Regions from separate parts of the Homo sapiens genome. Here all the other regions are linked to region 3. The links are contacts of gene promoters, found by promoter capture Hi-C in blood cells and fetal thymus (Javierre and others, 2016). All regions are on one chromosome and are shown on one strand. Each heading gives the region's core, a stretch centred on a gene start or on the middle of the fragment in contact. The rest is flanking DNA. Distances are from core to core; before and after follow the strand shown. Region 1 overlaps LOC339166 (a long non-coding RNA gene). Region 2 overlaps LOC339166 (a long non-coding RNA gene). Region 3 holds the start of WSCD1 (WSC domain containing 1). Region 4 has its middle 130 kb from the start of AIPL1. Region 5 has its middle 170 kb from the start of AIPL1. Region 6 has its middle 150 kb from the start of AIPL1. Region 7 has its middle 110 kb from the start of AIPL1.

Region 1 (4,135 bases), core at 689-3,188, 190 kb before region 3:
GTGAGCCTGCAGATGCAGGAAATGCCAACTCCCTTCATTGTGTTTGGCTGCAATGAACCCCTGGCCTGGGTATGGAGAGACATCTCATTCCACTTGATTAAAAAATGTGACCTGTGTGTGAGGCTTGGGAGGGACCCAGAGATGAATCGCCCTCAGCCCCTGTCAAAGGAAGCACTGGCCTGGTTTCTGAGGGAAACCCTCTGTTTGGAAGTGTAATCGGGCCATGCACAGATTCGGGATGTACTGAAACGACCTTAGCAGTGAGCTCCCAGTCAGTTCAGAAGTTGGAACATGATGCTTACGAGGGCAGAGTCACAGGGTCAGTCCCACCTGGACGAGGGCCATGTCAGCCAGCAAAGCTAACAAAACAGCATTCTCTTCCAGACCAAGCCTGGCCATGGTCCTAGACTGGGTTCCAGCTGCTGACATGGCCTGAATTCTCCGAGACTCAGATTGCTTATTCCTCCTGCAGCACCACCGGCTGTCAGGGCAAGACGTCTGCATGGCCTCTGCCACCAACTGAGCAGACGGGGGGTTGGAGGGACCAGAAATGCACAGAGAGGTTCAGGGATTCCCCCAGAGTTACCAAACCAGCACTGGAACCAGGCGTGGGCATCAGTAGAGGTAAGTCATGTGCCCGTTGCATGGACCAGCAAGCTGAGGTTAATTACTCAACAAGCAAGCCCAGGTTGAGTATCCCTAATCTGAAAATACGAAATCAGAAATGCTTCAAAATCTGAAACTTTTTGAGGCCCCCACGCTAGAAGAATTGCTCATTGGAGTGTTTTGGAGTTCGGACTTCCAGATAAGGAAGATAAGTGTAACGCAAATATTCCACTTCTGGCCCCAAGCATTTCAGACAGGGGACACTCAAACAACTGGGCCCTCGCTGTGATTCAGGCTTTGTGCCACGTGCCACCTGCAGATAGGATGGTTCCGACGGCCCAGGAGCTCAGCATCCGGCTGGAGCGTGGGACAGGGAAATAAATGATGGTTTTAAAAGGGTCATGAGAGGAAAGACATGACTCAGTATCTTGATGGTGGTGTTATATACATGAAGCTACACAGGCGATAACATTGTACAGAACTCAATCCATGCAGACAAAATGAGAAGCAAAACTAGGGAAATCTGAATAAGTTAGGGGGACTACACCAATGTCGATACGCTAATTGTGATATTATTGTTTAGTTTTGCGAAATGTTATAATGAGCGGAACTGGACAAAGTGTGCAGGCATCTCTCTGTATTATTTCTTACAACTATATGTGGATCTACAATTATCTCAAAACATTTTTTTTTTGAGATGGGGTCTCGCTCTGTCACCCAGGCTGGAGGGCAACAGCACGATCTCGGCTCCCTGCAACCTCTGCCTCCCAGGTTCAAGCGATTCTCCTGCCTCAGCCTCCTGAGTAGCTGGGATTACAGGAGCATGCCACCATGCCTGGCTAATTTTGTATTTTTAGTAGAGACAGGGTTTCACCATGATGGTCAGGCTGGTCTTGAACTCCTGACCTCGTGATCCACCTGCCTCGGTCTCCCAAAATGTTGGGATTACAGGTGTGAGCCACCGAGTCTGGCCTCAAAACATTTTTTTAAAGAACAGGTGTCTCTGCTGAGGCCACTCTCACCCTTCAGTGCGTTAGGAATGGGCCACCTTCCTCCACTCCTCAATAGAGATAGGAAATCAGCTCTCGGCCATGACTTTCAGAAAGGCTAGAGTAACCTCCTTTGCAAATTTTTCCTGTACTTCCTGCAGCCAGAAGCTGGGGGTTCCACTAACGATGAGCCACTGTAGTAATAAGACACCTGTTGCTGATGAGAAACTTGTCCTGAACGGTCCCTTGGCTGCCTGGGAGGCTGAAATAAACAGCAAACACGCATTCGAAGAAAGCAAAGCCTTTCATGAAAGAGAATTGGGTGGAAAGTTGCTTTGCTTTCCTAGAGTCCTTGGGAAAAAGATCCTGACATAATTACTCCCAAGTCCGGGATAAATGAATACAGAAAGTGCTTTACAGAACGCAGTGAGTCTGATGGATTTTATTGATCGGCTTTTCCCCGTGTTTCCTGGGGAAATACTGCACCTTCCTCACTGCGGCTTCCTCACTCCGGCCCAGTGACATAGACACGATTGTTTTCATTACAGGATGGCATTTCCTTTGAATGAAATATGAAATGGGGTGTATTCCGCTCTCACTTCGGGCAGTGTGGTGCCTGGGCTTGGACAGACATTTCATTATTTCCAAACAAATATCACCTTCAATCAAATATTAATTTTGTATGAAACCAGAATGATCACTAGTGGTTTTTGTCACCAAGTAAAAGAGCAATGAACGGCCCAGGGGTCATTAATTTCTTCCCAGAAAAGCAAGTGTGTGTGTGTGTGTGTGTGTGTGTGTGTGTGTGTGTGTGTGTGTGCATGCACGCACGTGCGCGCATGTGTGTGTGTGATACAGGGAACCAAGTGAGAAAGTCAGACTGGAATCGCTTTCATCTTTATATTCTGACCCCTGATGCTTCTGTTCTTGTTTCCCAGGTGGGATCACAACCTTTGTGAGTTTCTTCTTGTTTCTGGAGGTAAACAGACATGTACTGTGGTGCAGGGCCGGAGTGGGAGTCTGGCCACCCTGGCAGGCTCTTTAGCAAAGGGCAGAGTGGCCTGGGAGGCAGCACACCTTTGCCCCGCTCTAAACAGCTCTAAACAGACCTGCTGTGCATCCCCAGCACATACTGGGCCTGTCTGAATCTCCGTGTCTTCAGAGGTGATGGGGATGCAGCCTACATGATCTCTAGAGTCTTCTGGCTCCTGTGTTCTATGACATTCACTACAGCTTGGGGAATTTCCCCATATATAGTCTCCTTTATGAAACCCATCAGGGATGAGGAGTGGCCCCAGCTATAGAAAACTGCAGGAAAGGCCTCGGCCCCATGAGGGCTTCTGACCCGTTCCCAATCATCCCTTTCATGCTATTTCTGCTTCCTTTTGGGTTTCTTCCGCCTTCTTCCAACCTCCTTGTTATCAGAGAACTGCAGCTCTGACCTCGGCTTGAATACCTCCAGTGAAGGGGCGCTCCCCACCTTCCAGGCAGCCCAGGCTATTAGGTATTGGAAAGTATTACTCTTGTAGTCTTTCCTTATGCTGAACAAAGAGAGAGACATTTCCCTATCCGTCTTCTTTCTGCTCCCTGGTAGTACACGGAGTAAGGCTAATTTTTCCTGCAAATGACAGTCAAGTGCTGAAGAATGGTAATCAAGACCCCCTTAGTCTGCTCCTCTCCAGAATTAGTACTCCCAGATCCTGAATCATTTATGGCATGTAGTCATGAGTCTTTATCATTCTGATTTAGTTCTTCTTCTTTTTTTTTTTTTTTTTTTTTTGAGATGGAATCTCGCTCTTGTTGCCCAGGTTGGAGTGCAATGGTGTGATCTCAGCTCACCACAACCTTCGCCTCCCGGGTTCAAGCAATTCTCCTGCCTCAGCCTCCCAAGTAGCTGGGATTACAGGCATGCACCACTATGCCCGGCTAATTTTGTATTTTTAGTAGAGACAGGGTTTCTCCATGTTGGTCAGGCTGGTCTCGAACTCCCGACCTCAAGTGATCTGCCTGCCTCGACCTCCCAAAGTGCTGGGATTACAGGCGTGAGCCACCGTGCCCGGCCTGGTTTGGTTCTTATAAAGAAGTTATAAAGCTAAAAGTGTCCCTTCTTATATATATAAAAATCAATCATAAAGCTAATATAATTATAGAAAAATTAGTTACTCGGGGAAAAAGTTGTCAAAATTTCCATTTTTAACCCACTTACTATGCATATTTTGGTACATTCTTTTCTGTCTTTTTCTCCATATGTTTTTTACAGTTTTGAACTGTAAATTTGAATACTTTTTACCCCTTTCTGCAGTAAATGTCGTGTCAAAATTGTTTTCCGTGTTCCCTCATAGTGTTTACTTTTACTCTTCAATCTATCAATGCATTTATGATAATTTGTTTAAGCTTATACTGTTCAGCACTGAGATTGTTTCTACTTTTATGCTATTATAGCCGATGCTGTGATGACATTTTTGGGTGTGGCTTCTTTGAGAAAGAGGTCAATGAGATGCATCCTGGGGTCAGAAGGTGTGAATATCTACAGTTGCTAC
Region 2 (3,696 bases), core at 944-3,443, 210 kb before region 3:
TGAACAGTTTGGGTGAGATTTATCTGCAGGAGTGGCAGGCTTATTTCCCCTGACAATTTTTTTATGTTTCATTGGTCTTATTTCACTGCTTGGGAAAGATTTTCCCCTAATATTTTTTTGTTTATTTTTTTATCTGGTGATAATGTTTTTGAAAATACTAAGTGGTAGAAAAGACCACTCGGACACAGGGGATTTGAGCAAACCTAGGGCTTGGAAGAGACCTTTTGTCCTGATGAGTCCCCAGCACCATCATTAGAGCCAATGGCAGAGCTGCCCTGGGGTTCCTGGACCTCCTCCTGGCCAGTGAACTGGAGTCTTGCATCCCGTGACCATGAGAGACGCATTCTTTCCGAGTGTTCTTGGATCTTGGCATCCTTATTAGGGGAATCAGAGTTGAGGGCGATGGAGTGTCCCAAGATCTGGGAGAGAAGAGGCTGCCCCAGGAGGTGCCAATGCTGCTACTGAAGCCTGGGTTTTCAGTGGAGGATATTTGAGCAACTCAGTGACTGGAAAAGGGGTTAAGCTGCAACCAAGTGGGAGGCGGAAGGGCAGTGGGGCCAGGGCTGCAAAACTGGAAAGAAGAGCAAGCAGTGGGGCTTTGGCTGGATTTCCCCAACACACTCATCAGTAAGGCAAAACCAGAAGTGCTGATAGCACTCAGGGCAATGTTCCCCTCCTCCTGGCCATTCTGCGTTGATTGGCATGACAAGTGCGGAAGTGTGGGGGCTCTTTTGTCATCTTGGGACAGGCTGGAAGCTTCCATTCCCAGTGTGCATTTCTGCTCTGCGGGCTTGGTACTGCTGGTGGGAACAGCCCAGTTCTGGCCTCCCCAGGGACAATCACAGGGCGTGCAAACCTAAAGTCAAGGCCCCTTCAGAGGACTCTCCCTGTGGCCTGTAGACCTTGTAGGTTTCAATTATGCATTTGGTTTATTTCTGACTTGCTTCAACCCCTTTAGATCCTAATAGTGGCCATGGAAAATGACGGCTGTACAGTATATATATAATTTGAGATGGAGTCTCACTCTGTTGCCCAGGCTGGAGTGCAATGGCATGATCTCAGTTCACTACAACCTCTGTCTCCCGGGTTTAAGCGATTCTCGTGCCTCTTTTGAGCCTCTTTTGAGCCTCTCCTTTGAGCCTCTTTTTCTTTAGCTGTAAATGAGGGATAACAATTGCCTCTACTTTCCACAATTGCTATGAGGATTGAATAAAAGATGCATGGTAAGTCATTGGCCTAGAGTATAGAGTAATTATATTTTCCTACAGGTTTCCATTTTTCCTATTATTATTATTATTACCCCCACATGATTTTTTTTTTTTTTCGGGACAGAGTCTCGCTCTGTCTCCCAGGCTGGAGTGCAGTGGCGTGATCTTGGCTCACTGCAACTTCTACCTCCCTGGTTCAAGCAATTCCCCTGCCTCAGCCTTCCGAGTAGCTGGGATTACAGGTGCATGCCACTATGTCCGGCTAATTTTTTTGTATTTTTAGTAGAGATGGGGTTTCACCACGTTGGCCAGACTGGTCTCGAACTCCTGATCTCAGGCAATCTGTCTGCCTCGGCCTCCCAAAGTGCTGGGATTACAGGCATGAGCCACAGTGCCTGGCCACCCCTGCATGATATTAACAAGGCTGAGGCTGAGGCTGGTTGGAAAGACCTTGATGCGTTGAGTCGGGGCCTGAAGTCATCACTGGGAGGTGAGGGTCTTATAACCCTATGGTGGAGATGGACATGGGTTATGCTTAGGCAGCTGGGGAAGGAGTGAGCCAAGGAGAGAGAAATATAACATCCATGCATTTCCATCTGAGGAGTCTAAATTCCTTCTTTGTCCTTTTAATCTGGATTTTTTAGACCTATTAACTGTAAGAATGACTGTGTTGATTAAGCTCTCCTAATACATTTTTGAATTCATCACCAAAGCAGTAGGAGTCTGTCCTACATGTCTCCTCACCTCCCCACCCCACAAAACACCCCAGCCTACAACACAGAAGTTGCCCTTTGTTTTTGCTGACCCCAATCACTGTCATAGCACTGGGTTGAGGGCCAGCCCAGCATTTCTGAGGATCATATCTTTGGTAGCCAATCCCTTGTCCCTCTGGACCTTCCTCTTCTTCCAGTATCTCAAGGTCTTGTTGAAATCTTGAGAACACTGTTGACCTCCCTTCCAATGGTATGACCTAATTCATTTGCAAAGGGCTTATCTTCCAAAGGGAGAGAGGTCCATGATAGAAACTCAGCAATGTGATTATTGCATAATGTACTTGTTAAATTCAATGAACAGTAAAAAGTTCCTTGGCATAGCTTAAGCAAAAGACAGGGCTTGATTGGCTGGATGTGTCACAGAACCCAAGGGCTGAACGGCAGTGGACCTTTAAGGCCTGGTACTCAGCAGGAAAGCCATCAGGATACAAGGCTGCCATCTGCCTCATTGCCTGATGGCCTCTTATTTCTATTTTTTTTTTTCTGTATGTGAGCACCTTTTCATTCTTTTTTTTTTCTTAATTTTTTTTTGAGACGGAATCTCGCTCTGTTGCCAGGCTAGAATGCAGTGGCGCAATCTTGGCTCACCGCAACATCTGACTCCCTGGTTCAAGCTATTCTGCTGCCTCAGCCTCCCGAGTACCTGGGATAACAGGCACACGCCACCATGCCCAGCTAAATTTTGTATTTCACCATGTATTAATTTTTGGGTTTCACCATGCTGGCCAGGCTGGTCTCAGTCTCCTGATCTCGTGATCTGCCTGCCTCGGCCTCCCAAAGTGCTGGAACTTTTCATTCTTCTATCTTCAGCCTGATCTTTTCTATTCTGCTTACGGATGGCTCAGATGTGGTTACCTGGGCCCTGGCTTTCCATGACCTCCCAATTCATAATTCTTCAGAGACCGATTACAGTGTATATTAATTTAAAACTTGTAGGAGGAAGACTCTGGATAGCCCAGCCAAGCCAATGGATTGGCTCCCCCTGTGTCAGCTGTGACTCACCAGTCACCAGGTGCCAGGGGATGCAGCGTGCTCCTATATTTCCTGAACATCTTCATGCAAATAGGTTCTGGATAACACACCCCCTTGAAAGAGACTTTCCCCATGTTGGAATGGCATTCTGCACCCTTATGTACAGACATAACCTCCTGCAGGCCGAGCAGCAGTGGCCTGTTTGGAGCAATTTTGTACCGTCGGCAGCATGACTCCTCAGTGGTCTGTGGATCTCCAGGTCAGAGCCGTCTGCCTGCAGGTTACATACAGGCTGAAATTTCACCAGCAGCAGCTAAAGTCAGGTCACAGCCCAGTCATTATAAATGCCAAATGTGTTTGGTCAAAAGATGACCTTTGTTATAAACTACAGGTCCCAAGAACATTGCCAGCTGGGAAGTACAAGATTCTTTTAAATCAAAGAATTGAGAGAAAATGCATAACTGTGCAAAATCACCAGCAAGGGTGCCTGGAAGCTACTGCTTCTTCTAGTCAAATGGAAATCTTTCAATGATGCCAGGTGGTGCTGTTAAGAAGCAGAATTCTTCCCCTAAGCCCACATGTTCATCAGGTTCCTTAAACCAACAGCTTGAGAAATTTAGATTTCCTTCAGCATTCTTTCAAACTCTGGGCCCAGTGATTTCTTCTGTAATTTTAGAAAAGCTTATTATGCCATTTCTTTGGGGGGCCTGGGAGAATCAACCCTTTCAGGTTTCAGTTTTCTC
Region 3 (4,189 bases), core at 777-3,276:
TGAATTCCCCTGGGCTCAACTGGCTGTGAGCCTTTTGTGATCACCCACCTGAAAGCCTCATCTGTCAAATGGGCACATGAAGGCATCTATAGACTTATCAGTTTTAAGTGGGACAATGGGTACGAGAGGGCCAGGGCTGGCTTCATGGGTATGAGATCTGTGAAAGGCTCTGAATTCTGTGCTCAGAAGGGACCCGTACTGGTTTAATATCCTCCTTTTATCTCTCGAAATTCTTGATAGTGTTTTAAAAGGGGGCTCCATTTTTATTTTAGGCCCTTCAAATTATGTAGCTGGTCATGGAGAGGGCTTTGCAAACCAAACAGCATTGCGAGACTGCACAGTGGGTTGCTGTTATAAATCGTAACGACACACACATTCACATTCTGTAAAGGATATATATGTGAAGGGGGCTTTTCTGCAAGGTTGGGACTCTGAGGCAGCACAGAATTCGTCTCTCACTTACTGTATCCTCTTCCTGGGCTTAAGGATATTAAATCCAGGTGCCCCAAGACCTTCAGAGCATTCTGCCTTCATGCGGATGGTGCAGACTCTGTTCTAATTCTGCACTTGGCCAGACATAGCTATGCAAACTGCAGCGAGTCTCTTCCCGCTCTGGGCGCCACCTGACTGACCCGCGTAAGGAGGGACTGTGACTGGTCCCCAGGCAAACGCTTTCCCTGCCACCTGCACCTGTTGCAAGCCAGCTCCTCGGAGCCAGGCCAAGCAGCTCTGCCCCTAGCGGGAGTCGGAGGCATGAAACTCCCTTTTAGGAAGACGGAGTAAGAGGCACCACCACCTGCTCCTGCTGCCTCTGCTGTCCTCAGCTTCTGGGAGCATCTTAGCAGCCAGCTCCGGGTGAGGACAGGGTCCACCGGTGCACATGGCAGAGCAGGGCAGATGCTGTGACTTGGCGGCTTTGGGGGAACAGGGTGGGGCTCCTCCCTGGGAAAAATCTTTAGGTTTGGATCCAGCCTTTATTTAAAGAGGGGGATTGTGTATAGACTTGTGTGACTGTTCAGCCTCTTTCCACCTCGGTGCGTGTGTGTGTGTGTGTGTGTGTGTGTGTGTGTGTGTGTGAGAGAGAGAGAGAGAGAGAGAGCCTGTGGGTCAATGCCCAGTATGCCCCTCTGAGAGTGTGTCTGTTAGTAGACACCAGTGTGTGACATTGCTTCTGTGGGCAACTATGTCAAGGCGTGGGTTTGTCACTGTGTGCGGTGTGGAGCAGTATGATAAGCCGGCGGCCGACCCCCGAGTGTGTAGACGCGGGAGCTGGTGTCAGGGTATTTGTAGGGCTGCAATTCTGTGTAGGTCTGTCTCAGATTGTGTGAGAGTGTCTGTGTTCCAGCAGGTGCTTGTTTCTGAGTGTGAATGTGTGTGAAGCTGTGACCGTCTGTCTCTAGCTCTGCATGGGACGGTGATCCGGTGTGTGTGTGTGTGTGTGTGTGTGTGCGTGCGTGTGTGGTGTGTGTGTGTATTAGAGTGCACTCTAAACTGTGTGGCTGTGTGTGTACGTGTGCGTGCCTGTCACAGTGGCCCAGTCTGCTTCTGGGTGAGTGGGGCAGAGCCCAGAGAGTGTGTGTGTGAGTGTGGGTGTCGGTGTCTCTGGGAAGCAGTGATTCGGGATGTGTGTGTCAGGCAGTGTGCGGCTGTCGCTGTGAGTCTGCATGGGAGAGTGGCGGCGTGCTCTCCTCTGCGCGGCAGTGCCCCGTGTGTTTGTGGGTCTGTGTCTGGGTGTGAGCGTCATGGTGCGTGTGTTAGAGCCCGTGGGGCCCCGGTGAAAGGCTGTGGCTCTGGGTGACTGGTGTGTGTGTGTGTGTGTGTGTGTATCAGAGTGGGTGGCGGCGTCTCTGCTCGGCAGTGGCGCGTGTGGCCCGCCCCGCGCGCGTGTTCTCGCGGGCCGGGGCAGGGCGTGGGCCCCCTCCGGCGGAGCCGCGACCCCTCCCCCGGGCGGCGGGAGGTGCGCACCGGCGCCTCTAGGACCCGGCGGCGGCCGGCCGCTGTCCCCGGGCCGCGCGAGTGAGCATGTGCAGAGCCCGGCGCCCGCTCGCCCGCCCGCTGCCCGCCCCGGCTCCGCGCCCGCCCGCCCGCCCCGCCGTTCAGCCCGGACGCCAGCAGCCCCGGGGAGCCAGGCGGCGGCGCCCTGTGCCCGGGCGCGTGGGTCCGCTTGCCGCGGGCGGCCGGAGACGTGCGGGCGCCGGGGCTTCTGGGCTCCGGGCACTGCGGGGGGCTGCGGGCTCGGCGCCCGGGGAAGGCGGGCCATGGGCGCGGGTGCGGGCGCCCCAGCCGGCCGCGATCGCGGGGTGAGTCCTGTCTCTCGGCGCTCCAGCCGGACCCCCGCGCGGGCTGCGAGCAGGGTGTTCCCCTTGCCGCGGGCAAACAAGTTTGTGCAGACGCGGTTGGGAGCGCGGCGGGGCTGCACCTGCTCCGGCTGCAGGGCGGGCTTGCCGGGGGCACCTTCCCGGGGGCCCGGGGCGGCTCGGCCGGGGCAGGGGAGAGTGAGCGGGTGCGTGCAGGGGTTGTGGGGGGGCGGGGGCGGCGCTCGGCGCGGCCGGGATGGGGTGGGGGTGCGCGAGGCGCCGCACGAGCCGCGTCCCCCTCCGGAGTCCTGAGAGCCCGTCCGTCACCCGGGAGGGCGCTGCGGTTGGTCCCGGGGAGGGGGCGAGGGCAGGGTGTGGGGTGCGCACAGCTTCCCTCCTAGGCGGCGACGTTTACCCAGAAGCAGCTCCCTCTCGTTCCGCTACCAAGAGAGGCTTCCGGTCAGCGGAGGGTTTGCTCCGTCTCTTGGTGAACTTGAACAGAGGCAGAGGCAAAAGCAAAACGTATGTATTTTGTCCAGAAAATTACCTAGTGTAGAGCTTTGCGTCTTCGTAGGTGTGGACGGAGACTCACGACTGAAGGTTGCTAAATTGCGTTTTTCTTGGCTACTCAGGAGCGTACGTACCTGGCTGGGTCCCCTGCCTCCGGGTAACCTCGCTGGTGGTTTTCCTGAGCATTTGTGCGCCTGGGATGATGCCTGCTCTGCTGATCGGGAATGCGGGTGGGGAAGGGGACCGCTCTTCCTTCCGCTGAGCAGTGGGAAGGCTCATATAGGAGTTCTAGCCTCATAGCCCTGCACTGGGATCCAGCTGCTCCCCACACTGGCCCTGCCCCTGCAGCTCCCAAGATGGACAGATGCAGGACTCCGCTGTACTTTTCTAACATGAGATACCCGCATCCCTCTTGTTGCTGGAACAGCATGCTTAGGTTTATGGAGGCACTTGGTTTATCCCACTTTGGCATCAGGAGTGGGGGCCTTTCTTTTTTCCTCTGATTTGCCTAGGTTGTCAGGCACAGAAAGTGAGGGTGGTGGGGAGTGAAAGTTACAGGAGATATAAAGCTGGCTTGCCCTGCGCTGTTTGCAATCACCCACTCCTGGTGGCTGCAGGTGCTGGGGAGAGAGCTAGGGGAGGTTTCCTTGGGCTATGGGAGAATGAGGTTTGTCTCTCTCAATCATGCCCCCACCCCCACACACTTAGATTGGCCCTCAGGAGATCCTCCGGGAAGGGGCCTCAACCGGCTGCCAGAGCTCAGGGTTTCTAGGAGGAAGAGCAGGAGCTCTCCCAGGCATGGGATCTGAAGGAGGCTTGGCGGTGGTTGGGCTGGTGGCTGAGCCTGACTGCCTCATCTTCTCCGCCAGAAGGCTCTCACCTGTGGCTGCATCCTCCAGGCCTCAGCAGGGCCATTTCCACAGCTCCTCTGTAAAAATGCCTTCTTCTGGGGTGAGGGGATCCCTCTCTTCAGTGGGCATTGTGCCCTATGGGGTACTGCCCTGTGGCCTGTGGCATGTCTGGTTGGAAGTGAAGAGAAGCTGGGATAAGGCAGAAGGCCAGACTCCTGTCTCTTCCTCCTGTCTTCCTAACCGAGCAGAAGTGGATATTCAGTGCCACTAGTGGGTCTGCTGCTGAAGCTTGAGCCTCCAACCTGATCAGTTTGGCCAGAGCACTGGGGAATGAGTCACAGAGCTGGTTCCTTATGGCATCAGCCTGAGCAGGCGACTCAGAGCCTCTGAATCCAGAGCCTCCAGGCCCTGATGGAACCCCTCCGAGCAGGGCCTCTAGGGAAGTGGTGTTTCTCATTATAGAAGCTCCAAGCTTGTACTCCCATCCAGCTCAGACCCCCATCAGCCTTGGTGAGACCAGCTCCCTGACTC
Region 4 (3,818 bases), core at 1,211-3,710, 230 kb after region 3:
CAAAATATTGAGTGGGGGAAACAATACGGAGAAAAATATGTATATGTTTCTGCTTTTTAAAAAAAAATAGTAATAATAAATGGAGCCACATCAGTCTGGCCACATCTGGAGGAAGGAGTAAGGCAGGGCTGGGGCCTCAGTGCATCAACACCACAAACGGCTTTGAGGTGCATGGATGACTACCCCCTGGCTGCTATGTGTGGGCAGGTCATCATGAGCTCAGCCCCGACCTGTTCATGGCAGCCCTCATGCCTCTCACCCTCCAGTCAGGGCAGATCCCATGAGGGATCTGGGGAAGAACTAATCCCAGCTGACCAAACTTAAGTCTCGCCGCCACACAAGAGCACCCCCAAGCAGGCACAGAAGTCTTATTGCAGGACAGGCTCTCTTCTTTTTCTCCACACTGAGGGGTCCAGCCACCATGAAGGCCATTCAGACTCCACTGAAATGGCCACTGGGCACCATCTTGAATAAAAGTCCACTGTGGCAGACAACAGCAGTCCTTTCCCACAAACCTACCTACCTCAGACAATTCCACACAAATATACTCTCACATATACAGAGAGAGAGAGAGAGATCAACACCAAAAACCTGAGCAAACCAGTCATCAGCCATAAGCAGACCAAATGAGGTGAATTGACAGCATTTCTTTAGCAAACTGTGCAGAGAGCCTGAGGCCAGGGTGAAAAGTTTTGAAGCTTAAGAAATTAACAAGCAAGTGCAATTTCCAGCCTAATGGAGTGTAAGGCACAATCAACACCTTTGTGAAAGGGAATATGGTGGGCACTTCCAGATCTTTCCACCCAGCCCAGAGCCTTTGTTACGACTAAAGATAAAGATTTCCCGCCACTGGTGCTCCTCCTAACAATGCCACATAATCCCAGCTCTGCCTCACTGACCCACATCTGTGCAGAATGGGAGAGAAGAGTTCCAGTTCGTAGCTTCTAAGTCTTTATTCAGAGTCAGTCTAGTCTCCTACTATTTAAATTTTGGAGTTCAGTGGTAAAGTTCACAATTTAAAAAATAGAGACATCATAGTAAAAGCTGAGGAAAGAACGTCCCCAAACTATTAGCAGTTGTTGCTTTTGGGAAATAGTATGGGGAGATAAGGGATTTTGCTTTTTATTCTGTGTCAGTTGAATATTTATAATGAGCAGATATTACTTTTGTAATTTAAAAATTTATATAACTAATGTTCCTTAGATATAATGATTTGGTTTGTTTCTGTTTGGCTATATCTTGATATCAGAAGTTTAGAGGATCACAAACTGTCAAAATAAGGAGGGAACATAAAAGCTCATTTGGAATCACCTACTCAAGTTTAAAAAGAGCTCAGAGATGGGGAAGTGGGGAGGAGTCATTTCGCCCAATTCATGGCAAGTTACTGTCAGAGCTAAGGCTAAATGCCCTGGTCTCCTGATGCCCAGGCATTGCTCTTTCCCTGCATGCTGCAGACCCCAGCTGCAGATTTGACTGACAGCCTCCTCTCTCTCCACACTCAAGGATGGACAAGTACTGGTTCCAGCATGCATCATCCCTAAAGCCAGTGATGGCTCAGAACTTGATCTGCATCTCAACCACCTGTGGCTTCTAGCTGCCGCTCAGGACTCCTGCTATTATCCAAACACAGCCCATCTTCACTAAGACAGGGGTGATAATTACACGAGCTGGTTATTGTCACCCTCTCATCAGCTCTTCACCAAGATACAGACAAGATGTGGAATGTGAAAGGAGACACCTTGGCAACCACTGCAGCTGGGTCTGCAGATTGCCAGCCCCACTGTGACATGGCTAGTGTCTTCAGTCTCTTCTCTCATCCCTCCTTGTTTTGCATCCAACATTTCAGACATAGGGAATGACTAATAGAACAAACACTCATCCCACAGCACTATCACAGTGCTTTTCCCCTGGGATTTTAAAAAGAGTGCAAGTACCTGCATTTTTCCATCCTCCCAGGTGGTCTTGATGTGCACTTCATGGAGAGGCCCTTCTTCATTTTTATGTACTTTAGAATCCTCTATTTGCCAGAAATATCTGACCTTCATCACACTTGGTCCCAGGGCAGAGTCTTGCCTGCAATTGGCAATTGCAAATTGTTTTTCAGGTGAACGTTTGTTGGAATGAATTGCTTCAAGGTGGCTGGCTTGAGAAGGTGTTGGGGGGCTCTCACTTCCTTTTGGCATCCTCTATAATCTTAGGTGAGAAAGACCCTGCTCTTCTATGGATATGGAGGTGGGAGATTGGTGTTGGCAGAAGGAACAAAGCACACATTGATTCAACTAAGTCAGTCAAGCCAACAGTCAATTCCAATTGTGAGCAGCTGACCCTACAAAAGGATGGAAGGCAAGAAGTTCAAGTCGCTTGACATTTCCCTGATAATGTCCAATTGGCCACATTCCAAAAGCCAGGCCACTCTGATCAGATGCTCCCACTTGTCTGGGCTTCCAGAATGACTCTGCCTAGTAAACCTTCAGTCAAAGTTGATAGTGAGTGGAAATCTGGCCCTCTTTGACTTTTCAGCACCCGGGACAGCACCCAGCACCTAGTCCCTGCTTGGTGCTGTTTGTTGACATATCCCAGAGATGAGGGTGGAGGGTTTAAGCATTAATACCTTTCAGCAATGGAAGAGCAACGCTTGGCTGCCCTAACTGCACCCGATGGGCCATCAAACTTGTCCAGACCCCCGAAAACCAAGGTCAGGAATTGTGGAAGGAGATTCCTTTAAAATCACAGCTGGACTCAGATACTTACATAGGCCAGGGTACTGTGTAGGTGAGGCGGTATTAATCAAAGCAGCCTCAAGGCACCACCAGTCAACTCCCTCCAGATAGGGTATATTCTCAATATAGATCAGCACAAAACAAATAGATACAGACAGACTTGTGCTATGCTGTCCCCACCGCCTCCAGTCACAGAAGAGGACAATTTTAAATCAACAAAATGTTCACACTTATCTACTTTATTATCCTTTTAGCGACACAAATAACATATGCTAAAATCAAACAATCGAGTGTAGAAAGAAAAAGTGAATATCCTTCCCTACCCCAATAAGACTTCCACAACCACCACCATCATCCCTCAGGCATGTATCCTTTCACATATTTCTCTATGCTCACAGGGAAACATAGAGACTCACACACACACACACACACACACACGTGTTCTGGTTTTCTTCTCCTCTAAAAATACATAGGCATAAGTTGTTCTTTTTAACAATTGCATATTATACCATACAGGTAAACCATATATTATTAAAACATTCTCTTATTCATAGTTGTATTCATAGGTGTTTCAGTCAGGATTCTCCAGAGAAACAGAATCAATAGAATGTGTGTGTGTGTGTGTGTGTGTGTGTGTGTGTGTGTGTGTGTGTATATATATATAATATAGAAAGAGAGAGAGACAGAGAGAGATACATACATACACATATGTATGTGTGTGTGTGTGTATATATATATATATAGAGAGAGAGAGAGAGAGAGAGAAAATATTTTTGAGGAGTTGGCTCACATGATTGTAGATACTTGATAAGCTGCAAATCTTCAGGGTACACAGAGAGCCTGGAGTTCTGGTCCAAAGGCACTACTGTGCTGGAAGAGCTGCAGTTCTGGTCCAAAGGCACTATGGTACTATTGTGCTGGAAGAATTCACTCTTATTCCAGCATAGTGCTTTCTATTCTTAACAGAAAAAGGTCGCTCTTTTTCTATTAAGGTCTTCACCTGATTGGATAAGGCCCACCCACATTATGGAGGGTAGTCGATCTGCTTTACTCCATGTCTACTGATTTAAGTGTTAATACCTTTTCAGGAACACATGC
Region 5 (4,076 bases), core at 148-2,647, 190 kb after region 3:
CTGTCTCAAAAAAAAAAAAATCTCATGATGTTTTAAGAGACTTAACAAATGTGTGTTGGGTCACATTCAAAGCCATCTGGACTGCAGGCCTCAGGTTGGGCAAGCTTAATATAGCATAAGATAGAAGGTAGAAGTAGGGGACCTTTGAGGTCCCATGAGTGTCTGCAACTTATAGTCCATATTTGATTGATTTGCTTCTGCTGAATCAGAGAAAGATGAATCTATTCCCCTGGATTAAGGAGGGATGTTGAATTGGACCTTGAAGACACTGAGATGGAGGTAACTGTGGTCAGAAGAGTTGCTATGGATGGGACCATGTGTGAATAATCCCATGTTGTATGGCTTGGTAGAGTAACATGTGCCATAGGCACACGACAGATGAGGGAGAGGAGATCAGAGCTACTGCAGTCTGAAGACCCCTGGAGAAGGGCAGGAGGCCAGAGAAATCAGGGAGACCTCCCTGAAAGAGGTCAGGTGGACATATTGGAGTGCTCAGGAAGCCCTGGGGAGGTGAGACTGAAGGAATTGTGAGTAACTAGCCAAAGTTGTGGAATGAGGGATCCGGCTCTTACTAGCAGAGAGTGGTTAAAGACAGACCAGGGACCAGGCACGGTGGCTCACACCTATATTCCCAGCACTTTGGGAGGCCGAGGCAGGTGGATCATGAGGTCAGGAGTTCGAGACTAGCTTGGCCAAGATGGCAAAACGCCGTCTCTACTAAAAATACAAAAATTATCTGGGCGTGGTGGCAGGTGCCTGTAATCCCAGCTACTCAGGAGGCTGAGGCAGGAGAATTGCTTGAACCCGGGAGGCGGAGGTTGCAGTGAGCCGAGATCACGCCGCTGCACTCCAGCCTGGGTGACATAGCAAGACTCCATCTCAAAAAAAAAAAACAGGAGACAATGAAGCCGCAGGTGAGCCAGGTAGTTACAAAAGAATGCGATCTCTCAGCAAGGGGAAGACCCAAGGCTGGGGAGAAAGTAGCACCTGGCTGGCTTCTTGAGGAAGCGTTGCCAGCAAGGAGCTCTCACATCTTAGCAGCGACCAAGGTAGTAGGCCATGAACTGTAATAGAGGCAGAGGGTTTGTTAAGATTTTAGAAGCAGACAGTCCTGGTTTGAAGTCCTGACTCGACTATGTTCCGAATGTGTGATCTTGGACAAATGGCTTAACCTCTGAGCCTTAGTTTCCTCATCTGTAAAATAAGTCTTAAAAAAAATCTCTCCAACCCTCCAAGAGCTGGTGTGAAGATTAGATGGGGTCATGGATGTCAGCATGATATGTAAACTCTGAAGTGCCCTGTGCTTATGGAGGTGGCCACTAATGGCATAGTATGGCAGAATCTCTGAATTAGAGAGTGACGGGAACTGCCTGGGGCTCCGAGTCAGGTCTTGAACTTACCATCAAGCTGGAGAAAACTTCCTTCTTCAATTTAGGGGTTGAACTGATAGGCCTGGCAGTGGTCCCACCTTTGAGCGGCTGTCCTGGAAACAAATACATGCGAGGATGTCGGCTCTTCTTCCATTCTGCAAGTCAGTGTCAGGTCAGTGTTGGGAAGTGGTGACCTGCAGCTGTCCACCTCCAGCTGCCTGCAGAAGGCAGACTGATCAGAAAGTTCTTCCGTGGCATTAGAATGGAGAGACTTAGGCATGCTAAATGCTGAAGGGAAGAACCATGGAGAGGAGGGGGTGGTGACTTGCAGCTGGCTGACAACCCCTCCCTGATGGACGCCATGAAGCCGGTGTGTCCATGACTCCCGTGACCTTGTTCCCAGCCTCCCTTACCACGTCACAGTGAAGTCATTTTTCAAAGCTAACACTTGTAGAGGCTCCTCCAGGAGGCAGTTGCTGATGACTTTGAATTCAACGTGTGGATTTGGATCTTCAGCCCTGACCCCTTCTCTAAACCCCAATTCGATATATCTAACCTGCCTACTTGATATCATCATGTAGATAAGGGTCTCAAAGTATGACCCAAACAGGGTTCCCAGAAACCTGCTTCCCCAAATTTGTTCCTCTTTGAGTCCTCTCCTGCCACTGCCGTCCACCCAACTCTTCAGGCCAAGACCCCCCCCATGTCATCCGTGACTGCTCTCCTTCCTTTATCCCTCCATCGACCCCAGAAGGCCCTGCCAGCCCTTCCAAATATATCCCCAGTCTGCCTTCTTTTCTCCAGGTCCCATGTTGCCACTCTGTCCATACCAACATCCTCTCTCAGCTGGTGATGCAGCAGCCTCTTACTGAGCAACCTGCTTCCTCTCTTGGCTTTTCAAATCCATTCCCTGCAAAGTAGCCAGAAGGATCTTTTCAAAACATAAGTCATGTTCATCTTCTTAAAGCCCTTATTCTCAAGGCACATAAAATAAAAACAAAACTGAGTGGAAGCCACACTGCATGGGGGTCGAGGTGTGAATAGGATTTTAGGACAGGACAATGAAGAATCTAGAAACGCTTGCAAGAGACATGGCTGGGAAAGGAAAGACAGGGAGAGAGAGTCAGAGCTGCAAGCAGCAGACTGATCAGAAAGTGCTTCCGTGGTGTTAGAATGGAGAGGCTTAGGCATGCTAGACGCTGAAGGGAAGGACAGTGGAGGGGAGGGGTGGTGATTCGCTTGGTAACAGACGACTCCTGTTTTTGGGAGGAGAGACTTGAAGCTAATTCATATTGTTCACAGTGGCATTTCTTCCCCCAGATAAGCTTGTTTTTGTCAGTTCTCTTTAAACAATAAATAAAATAAAGGTGGGAATTGAACAATGAGAACACTTGGACACAGGGTGGGGAACATCACACACCGGGGCCTGTTGTGGGGTGGGGGGAGGGGGGAGGGGGGAGGGATAGCATTAGGAGATATTTCTAATGTAAATGACAAGTTAGTGGGTGCAGCACACCAACATGGCACATGTATACATATGTAACAAACCTGCACGTTGTGCACATGTACCCTAGAACGTAAAGTATCATAATAAAAAAAAGAAAATAAATAAAATAAGAGCCTCCTTACTAAGGCCCACAAGACCCTCCAAGATCTGGCCCCTGCCCAGTCTCCAGCCCCAGCCTGTGCTATCTCCCACCGCCTACTGGCCACCAAGTTGTGTGCTTTAGCCTGCATAAGAATTATCCAGAGAGTTTGTTGAAGCACGAATTCCTATTCTTCCTGCTCCTCACCTTCCCCCTCCTTTGCCTTCTCCTATGCCCTTCCTTCCTGACATTCAGTCCTAAAGCCGTTAGGTGTAGCACGGGAAGAGAAGCCTCTGCAGTGAAGGGAGGGCAGCCATCATGGCCCAGAGCTGAGGCCAGGACAGTGATGGTACTGGGAGGCTCCCCAGCAAAGGGTGTCAGGGCATCAACAGGGTGAGGAGGTCATCTATGTGGTGGGAGGAAGACGGTGTGGAATATCAGCACCTACGCAGGGGGAGGAGGGTGCCACTGCAGAGGCATCCTGGCAGAGGTGACAGCACCAGACTGGCTGAGGACATTCCTACGAGGGGTGAGTGGCCTGATGCATGTCAGATCCTGAGCCCCGTGATGGGGGCAGCCCTGTTTGGGGAGCCCAAGCCCAAGTGAGAGAGATGGTCATCCCTGCAGATGAGTGACTGGTGGGGGTGTCAGAGCTCAGGTAGGGAAACAGCAGCATCCACACAGGGTCAGAGCCCAAGCAGGAAAAGAGAGTCCTGTGTGGGGAAGAAGGAGGCAGTGAGATGGAAGTTCGATCACACTGAGGAGGATTGTTAAGTAAACACTAAGGGTAACAGAAGCCAGGTGTTGTGGGTGGAATTGCATCCTTCTGAAAATTTACATGTTAAAATTCTAAACCCCAGTACCTCAAAATGTGAGCTTACTTGGAAATAGGGTCATTGAAGATGCTTTTTTTTTTTTTTTTTTTTTTGAGAGGGAGTCTCACTCTGTTGCCAGGCTAGAGTGCAGTGGCGCGATCTCAGCTCATCGTAACCTCTGCCTCCCAGGTTCACGCAATTCTCCTGCCTCAGCTTCCCGAGTAGCTGGGACTACAGGTGTGCACCACCACTCCCAGCTAATTTTTTGTATTTTTAGTAGAGACGGGGGTTTCACCATATTGGCC
Region 6 (3,890 bases), core at 617-3,116, 210 kb after region 3:
CTGAGACATGCCATTTTCCTAGCAAGAAAAGGCGAGAGAGCAGCACAAAAATGCAATGCCTCTGTGGTGGTTTTAAAATCTTTTTTACAAATGTTTTTATACTCCTTGCTTCGAGAGGTGGAGTTTAATTCTCCTCCCCTTGAGTATAAGTTGGAGTTAGTGACCCACTTATAATTACCAGCCCATAGCAGAACTGCTGGTGTGTAGTCTCTGAAAATAGGTCATAAAAGCACTGTGGCTCATTCTTGGATCTTGGAGCACTGCTCTGGGGCAGGCCAGCTGCCATGTCACTAGGACACTCGGCATCTTTATGGAGGAGACGTTGTGGTGAGGGACGGAGGCCTCCTGCCAACAGCCAGCACTACTGGCTATGTGAGGGAGCCACCTTGGAAGCAGATCCTCCAGCCCCAGTCAAGTCTTCGGATGACTGTGGCCCAACTGATATCTTGGCTGAAACCTCAAGGGTGACTGAGCCAGAACCAACCGGCAATGCTCCTCCTAGACTCCTTTCCCAGAGAAACTGTGTGAGATAATAAATATTTATTGTGTTGGGCCACTATGTTTAAGGGTAATTCATTATGCAGCAGTAGATAACTAACACAGCCTTTTAAAGCTTCTGGTCAGAATTGGTGTATGTCACTCTACTCTCATTTAATTGGCCAAAACAGATCACAAGATCAGCCTGGCATCAAATACCTATGGAAACATTGCAAGTCATAGAGGAATGGGTAAGGAAATATAGCCTGCTTACAGGAAGAGGGAGTGAATGGTTAAGCACAATAGTAGAGTTCACCATATCCTACCCCAATTCGTCCTGTTCCTTCTCCCACCATAAAACACAAAGTTGACCATATCAGCTTCCGTTCTTAAAACACTTTAGTGGCTCTTCGATGCCTCCAGCACAAAGTGTTACCTCTTCCATCAATCCTTCCAGGCTTCCATGTTCTTCCTCTGCCTCAGTGCCACCCTCTATCAGCTTGTGACTCTATCCTGTGCTCTGATTTGTCTGTTCACCTGTGCATCTCCTTGATAGCAGAGACCACACTGATTCATCTTTCTCTCCTGATTTCTCAGCACAGGGTCAGATGGTCTAATTTTGTGATGAATGGATGGATGACTGGATGGATGGATGGATGGATGGATAGATAGATAGATGGGTAAATGGAAGGCTGAATAGATGCAGGGAGGGACAGGCAGCAGAGAAAGTATGGGGATAAATGAGCAGCAATCCTTTGGAGTTTTGCAGCTGTTGCATATGTGAGCCTTCTCTCTCTGACCAGACAAGCAACTTCTACCTCCGAACCCTGGCCTGGGAATCAGGAATCAAAAGGTGTGTGTTAAAGTCTTGGCCTTGTCTTGTAATGGTTTTGTGGCATTGGGAAGGTTCAAAGTTTTAATCACTAGTGAAAGTTAAAAATGCCTGAGGAACAAAATCAAAATGAATGAAGATCTGATACAGTGCCTTACAGACTGATATATACTGCGCCTGTGAGGTGTGCCCCTCTCCAGCCTCTCCCATGTGCTGCAAATAAGCATAGAGGTGGACTGTCAGTGTCCTATGTCCCTGAGAACCTTGAGTAAACCACAAGCTGCCCTTAGGACCTGGCTGTGAGACTGCAGGACAAGGGCCTGGACAATGGAGGAGAAACAGATACCTGGAACTGTCACCAAAGGCCCCTACAACTCCTCTGGAGGGCAGCCTCAGGATGGGAATAACTTTGGGCTCTCCTTTCTTTATCATAACAGTCACCGTGGTGATAGTGGCCACCACCATTCTCTGCAGGCCACCAGGCACTGGTCCACAGAGCTCTGGGAGATGAGCAGCACACGGCTGTCTACCCTGCCATGCGGGTAGATTCACAGAAGCCATGTGTCTTTGGCCTGACTCTGTCTTCCTGGCTAGAGCCCATTGGTCCAGACAGGAACATTTGACCCCAGGTGAGCTTTAAATGTTGAACAGAGAGTTTTGGAGCCAAGTCACATCAAGGGTGGGGTGGTCTGGAAGGTGCCAAAAACCCCTGCTGATTACAACAATTTTCCTTGTTGCTCAAACTCATTAGAGATGGTTTTTGTCATTTGAAGCTAAAGGATCCTTTAAACCTCATGACAGGCCGGGTGCAGTGGCTCACGCCTGTAATCCCAGCACTTTGGGAGGCCAAGGCAGGTGTATCACAAGGTCAGGAGATGGAGACCATCCTGGCTAACATGTTGAAACCCCGTCTCTAATAAAAATACAAAAAAATTAGCCAAGCACGGTGGTGCGTGCCTGTAGTCCCAGCTACTCCGGAGGCTGAGGCAGGAGAATGGCATGAATCTGGGAGGCGGAGCTTGCAGTGAGCCAAGATGGCACAACTGCACTCCAGCCTGGGTGACAGAGCGAGACTCCATCTCAAAACAAACAAACAAACAAAACAAAACAAAACAAAAAAAACCTCATGACAAACCAGCAAAAAAAAAAAAAAAAAAAACCACAACATTTTATTGTGCCCATTTCACAGATAAAGGAACTAAGAAGCTGAGAGCTGTATCGACCAGCTCAAGTCCCTCAGCTAAGAAAGTACAGAGGAAAAGTAGTGCCTCACCAGTCCCATTATCTCAACAGTCCTCACAATAGCCCCACTGTGAGGACTGGCAGAGCAGCATGTTCATTCCCAATTTGCAGATGAGAAAACTGAGGCTCCAAAAAGAGAAGTGACTTTCCCAAGGTCATACCATGAGCAAGCAACCGAAAGGACCCAAACCAAAGTTTTCAGACTCTTGTCCAAGGGCTCTTTGCCCTGCCCCTGCCCCCTACTCCCAGGATCCCTTCTGCTAGCAGCTCCCCTAAAGTGCTGACCTTGTGCCCTGAATCTACCTACTCACTCAGAGAGAAGTTATGTGGCCTTGGAGCTACTTCCTGAACAAGCAAAGGAACAGCTGCTGGCCCCAGCCTAGGAGAAGAGAGAGCCTTTGTAAGAGTTAAAGAAAGAGGAAAGAAACTCGAAGTGTGCCTCAACAGTCAAAGACAGGTTTATTTTAGAGAAATAAATCTGAGAGGGGCTTCTGGCCAATTTCGGTCAGGAGCATTGTCTCTTACAGACTAAGAGTATATATTGGTTTTAGGGTGAGGGGGCTTATCACAAGCTTGGAATATTTCTGTGTTAGGGAGAAGTTTTATGGCGGGGTTGGAATGTCTCTGGTCAGAGGGGAGTTATCTCAGGGCTGGCATGTCTCTGGTTGGGGAGGGGTTTGAAATGTTTCTGGTTGGAGATGTGATTTGTGGTTTATGGTCCTGCTGACCTTAGCCATTAGGCTGATATCTTTTGGATTTAGGCAGTTTTTGATCAAGGTGGACTTAAAATGACAGTGCTTGTCCAAGATGGCAATACTCCTGCTCTGTCAGCCTCATGCAGGGTGTAGGCCCTGGTCCTGCAAACTTCCAACCTCAGTTATTAGTATCTTGCAGCATCATTGCAGCAGGACACTCGAGCATCATCCTGGCCACTAGAGCTGTGCCTGCAGGGCCTCAGTTACAGCCATTAGGTTTGGGGCCTGGGAAGTGAGGCTCAGGCGAGGTGCTTTGGGCATCCATCTCTTGGACACCTGCATGCAGTGAGAACCTTGGCTGAACACTTCTACCATAATGGGTTAGGAAATGTGCCCAAAGGCAGAAGCCTGCTTCCTGGGAGAGGCTGGAGAACTAGGACTCATCCACCAAGAGACTGCAGACCCATTTTGTAGTGAAAAGTGCTCTCCAGAATTTAACCAAATGCTCACCAGCGTCCCCAGCAGAGGGGAGGAGCCCAAGGACCTCTGTCCTCTCTCACATCACCTCTCTCTTCCCTGCCTGTTGCTCCAGGACATGTTTGTGAGCCTGTCAAATCACTCAGGGAAAACTAAAGTGACAAGTA
Region 7 (3,984 bases), core at 673-3,172, 250 kb after region 3:
GGACAACAAAGAAGAAATAGTTGCCTTTGATGACCAAATCTTGGAAGTCACACATAGTCACGTTGGCCATATTCTACTCAGCAGAATCAAGTCACTAAGCCCAATCCTTACTCAAGGAAAGTGGAATGAAGCTCCTTCTCCTGAAGGGGAGCATCCCCCAGAATCTGTGGACATGTTTTAAAACAACCACACTCCAGGAAAACAGACCTCCATATTCTGGTATTTAGGGGTCTTCCATCTCTAAAGCCAGCTCCTTTACCAACATTTTAGAGCAAATTCCACAATTTAACAAGGTCTCCTCATACTCATAGGCTACCGAAGCAACTCTATATTCCTTAATTTAAATGCAAATTGTCAACCAGGACACCAGATATTTTTAAAGGAAAACAACTTGCAGTAGAAAAGAGAATAACTCAACAATAATAAAGGAAAATACTGACCCCTAAGGGATTAGAGACAATTCAGGAAATATAAGACAATTAGAAAAAAACAAAAAACCTCTGGTATCTTCAGGAAGAATCCAGAAGATGTTGCATCCATTATACAATAAAATGATTCTATAAAACAGAAACAATTAGAAGACAAAAAGGAACGGTTAAAATTAAAAAATATATGGCCAAAATTTTTTACATGTGTAAAAGGATTGTTTTAAAAAGTCAAAAGCAATAGTTCAGAAAAACATAAAAACAACAACAAAAAGAGATGAAAACAATGAGAGAGAGAAGAAAAAAGATATACTGAATAAATCTGGGAGGTTCAACAGGTATTGGATACCTAAAATATATATATATTAAAGTGTATATATATATATATATATATATATATACACTTTAATATATACTTTATATATATTAAAGTGTATATATATACATTTAGAAAAGTAAGAAACTAAGAAACTTATCAAAGCTAAAGGACATGAATATCAGTGTTGGAAGTTTCACTAAGTGTTCAAGCATAGTCAATGAATAAAGAATAATATATAGACAGTTCATTGGAAAAATTTAAAATGTCAAGCATAAAAAGAATGCCCTTTGACCTTCTAAAGCAGAGAGGTTGGCAAACTAAATTCATGAACCAAATCTGGCCCACCACTTGTTTTTGTCAATAAAGTTTTATTGGAAATGGTTATGTCTGTTTGTTTATGTATTGCCTATGGCTGCTTTCATGTTACAACAGCAGAGCTGAGCAGTTAGAACAGAAACCACATGCCTGCAAAGTCTAAACTATTTGCTATCTGGCCCTTTACAGAAGAAAATTTGCTGACCTCTGTTCTGAAGATAAAACTTACAAAAAGAGAGAAAAGTTCACCCCCAAAAGAACAAAGTCAACCTGGCATCAGAAACTTTTTGTCAGCCTCATTGAACACCAGAAGGTAATGGGAAAATGCCACCAAGGTGCTGATGGAAAATAATTTTTACTCTAAAATTCTATAGTCTATATTGAATGCCAAGATAATATAAAGGCATTTTCGGACAGCAAAGACTCAGAAGCTTTACTTCCCATGTACCTTTTTAAAAAGTGACTTGAGGGTATGCTCTGGATAGACAAGGAAGTAAATCAAAAAACTAGGAAAGGACGCAAGAGAGAGTGGATTCACTAAAGCAAAGCCCTTGGATGGCAGCCATACAGTATGCCTAGAAAGCATTCAGCAGAATTAGACCAGGAAGATGGAAATATGATGAAAGGGACAATTTGAACCATGTAATTCTGGCCTTGAGAATTCAGAAAAAGTTAACGAAATGATGGAGTAATGGTGGGGGAGCAAAGACAACTGCCATTGTGGAACTTCGGGATCCATAAGGAGTCTTGTGTGCTGCTGCAGGGACTTGAGACCCCCTGAGTTATGGCCTGAAGAACGGGTCCACTTCCCAGGAGGGTTGTCCACTGACAGAGTCTGGCGTGTTCTTCCACTGGGAAAGTCTGGTGGTTGGACCACCAAGGCAACTTCCCTCACGGTTAAAGCTCATTTTTTTCACTAAAGGGGCTAGATAGATTTGGCTCATTTAGAACTCAAAACCTGCCAAGAATGATGAAGCTCAAGAGGAAGATTTCCAGTTTCCTGGCAAGTGCCAAACCCAGAGTACCCTTGCATGTGGTCTCGAGAGAAAAGGGTATGTGAATTCTGTGAGCACTGCCCACTAACTCTTGCTGGCTCCTGGGTTCTGGGTTCGGTGAAAGCAAAATCAGAGAAGGAAATTTGAAAACTTTCTCCAGAAGTCCCAGATTCTCCCATCTTCTGGGACTCATTCCTCACTCCCACCAAGAGCCTCCTCCTCCCTCTCCTGCCTTAAGCCCACTCACTCTAGAAACTCTACAATTCTTTTTTTTTTCTTTCAAGTAGTCAAATAACCTCATTAAGCTTTGTTTCAAACCTTATTTCCAGGCTTCTTCAGCTTAATTACCTACAAGTAATGAATTGTATATAAGCAAAAATGAATTGTATGTAAGCAAAAAGCTGCAGTGTCCAAGGGGCTTGGGCTTAAAAATATTAGAGATCTAGATTTTACCAGATCCATATATCAACTTTATAAAGCAGTCAAGGCCAGGCGCAGTGGCTCACTCCTGTAATCCCAGCACCTTGGGAGGCTGAGATGGGTGGATCCCCTGCAGTCAGGAGTTCGAGACCAGCCTGGCCAACATGGTAAAACCCCATCTCTATTAAAAACACAAAAAAATTAGCTGGGCGTGGTGGTGGGCACCTGTAATGTCAGCTACTTGGGAGGCTGAGGCAAGATAATTGCTTGAACCCAGGAGGTGGAGGTTGCAGTGAGCTAAGATCGCACCATTGCACTCCAGCCTGGGCGACAAGAGTGAGATTCTGTCAAAAAAAAAAAAAAAAAAAAGCAGTCCTAATGTAATATAGCAGCTCCCAGTAATTTCTGCAGGTTTTATCTTCTTCAGAAGTTGGCTTAATTCGGTTTGCCTCATTCTTGGAAGCCTCATCAAAATTCTCTGCAAGAGCTGGAACTTCATCATCATCCTCTCCAGTAGCAAATGGTGCTTTTTCATCCACAGACTGTTTGGGCAGAGCTTCAGCCCATCTTCCCAAACTAGCCAGACTGTCTGCATCTCACCGGCTTAAGATGCTGGGTAGCGTTTCCATCAGCTGCTGTGTCTCAGCATGGCCTGCAATGGTGAAAGAAGTGTTTGCTGCCAAAGATGCCTGAACTTTAGGATTGTTAAAGCGGATCACTGTTCCTTGATCTACTTTAACTTGTAAATGTATTCACCTCTTCAATACCAGATATTGTTTGCCCCTAACTTCTTCTTCTTCTTTTTTTTTGAGATGGAGTCTTGCTCTGTCACCCAGGATGGAGTGCAATGGTGCGATCTTGGCTCACTGCAGCCCTACCCTCTGCCTCCCAGGTTCAAGAAATTCTCCTGCTTCAGCCTCCCGGGTAGCTGAGATTACAGGTGCCTGCCACCATGCCTGGCTAATTTTTTGTATTTTTTTTTTTAGTAGAGACGGGGTTTCATCATGTTAGCCAAGCTGGTCCGGAACTCCTGACCTCAGGTGATCCACCCACCTCTGCCTCCCAAAGTGCTGGGATTGCAGGTGTGAGCCGCTGTGCCGGCCCCTAACTTGTTTAAGAGCTGAAGTTTTTTTAATCATCTGCTGTAGCTGTTCTGTGAACCACCTTCTTCTTTCTACAACCAATTTCTTTCCCACCAATGCACGGTTGTGCCTGAAGTTTGGCGGGTTTTTCCTAGTTCATGATTGTCTCTTTCATCTTGTCAGAGCAGAAAAGGGGCCATGCAGGGGGCAGGTTGGCACTCAGTGTTCAAGCAGAGTTAGGCAAACACACGCGGGGATGCAAGATGGCGGCTCTGCGATTCTTACTTCATTCTTTAGAACAAAATAAATCTCTTTCTATGAATTTCCAGGCGTGTACATCCTCAGGCCTATTTTTTCAAAACCAAAGAGTTTATCAATATAGCCAAAGTCTATTTATCGAGAGATTTCACAACCAGTAAAAGTGGCTT

What was found. The method cuts DNA at HindIII sites, captures the fragments that hold promoters and counts their contacts. A CHiCAGO score of 5 or more calls a contact.
Region 1: a contact is called between a fragment that was not itself captured here and the fragment with the promoter of WSCD1 in region 3, in 1 of 17 cell types (endothelial precursors). The highest score is 5.7, in endothelial precursors.
Region 2: a fragment that was not itself captured here is called in contact with the fragment with the promoter of WSCD1 in region 3 in 1 of 17 cell types (endothelial precursors); the score reaches 5.3 in endothelial precursors.
Region 4: a fragment that was not itself captured here is called in contact with the fragment with the promoter of WSCD1 in region 3 in 1 of 17 cell types (M1 macrophages); the score reaches 5.3 in M1 macrophages.
Region 5: a fragment that was not itself captured here is called in contact with the fragment with the promoter of WSCD1 in region 3 in 3 of 17 cell types (endothelial precursors, M0 macrophages and M1 macrophages); the score reaches 6.3 in endothelial precursors.
Region 6: a contact is called between a fragment that was not itself captured here and the fragment with the promoter of WSCD1 in region 3, in 1 of 17 cell types (endothelial precursors). The highest score is 7.3, in endothelial precursors.
Region 7: a contact is called between a fragment that was not itself captured here and the fragment with the promoter of WSCD1 in region 3, in 6 of 17 cell types (endothelial precursors, M0 macrophages, M2 macrophages and 3 more). The highest score is 9.3, in endothelial precursors.

Annotation. Positions count from the first base shown.
Region 1 is chr17:5,877,806-5,881,940 of GRCh38, forward strand. The region is part of intron 2 of LOC339166 (a long non-coding RNA gene); the gene reads left to right. Among named protein-coding and RNA genes, the nearest start is that of WSCD1, 190 kb to the right of the region's middle. The HindIII fragment of the contact is 4,098 bases long and covers 1-3,987 here.
Region 2 is chr17:5,859,085-5,862,780 of GRCh38, forward strand. The region is part of intron 2 of LOC339166 (a long non-coding RNA gene); the gene reads left to right. Among named protein-coding and RNA genes, the nearest start is that of WSCD1, 210 kb to the right of the region's middle. The HindIII fragment of the contact is 2,878 bases long and covers 755-3,632 here.
Region 3 is chr17:6,068,353-6,072,541 of GRCh38, forward strand. It overlaps WSCD1 (WSC domain containing 1), which reads left to right and starts at 2,027. Exons shown (of 9, transcript NM_015253.2): 1 at 2,027-2,300. RefSeq lists an enhancer at 1,263-2,094. The HindIII fragment of the contact is 6,207 bases long and covers 1-3,944 here.
Region 4 is chr17:6,301,350-6,305,167 of GRCh38, forward strand. No RefSeq gene overlaps it. Among named protein-coding and RNA genes, the nearest start is that of AIPL1, 130 kb to the right of the region's middle. The HindIII fragment of the contact is 3,528 bases long and covers 697-3,818 here.
Region 5 is chr17:6,259,132-6,263,207 of GRCh38, forward strand. No RefSeq gene overlaps it. Among named protein-coding and RNA genes, the nearest start is that of AIPL1, 170 kb to the right of the region's middle. RefSeq lists a silencer at 798-1,092. The HindIII fragment of the contact is 2,591 bases long and covers 103-2,693 here.
Region 6 is chr17:6,280,995-6,284,884 of GRCh38, forward strand. No RefSeq gene overlaps it. Among named protein-coding and RNA genes, the nearest start is that of AIPL1, 150 kb to the right of the region's middle. The HindIII fragment of the contact is 2,510 bases long and covers 612-3,121 here.
Region 7 is chr17:6,319,498-6,323,481 of GRCh38, forward strand. It overlaps the pseudogene BTF3P14. Among named protein-coding and RNA genes, the nearest start is that of AIPL1, 110 kb to the right of the region's middle. The HindIII fragment of the contact is 869 bases long and covers 1,489-2,357 here.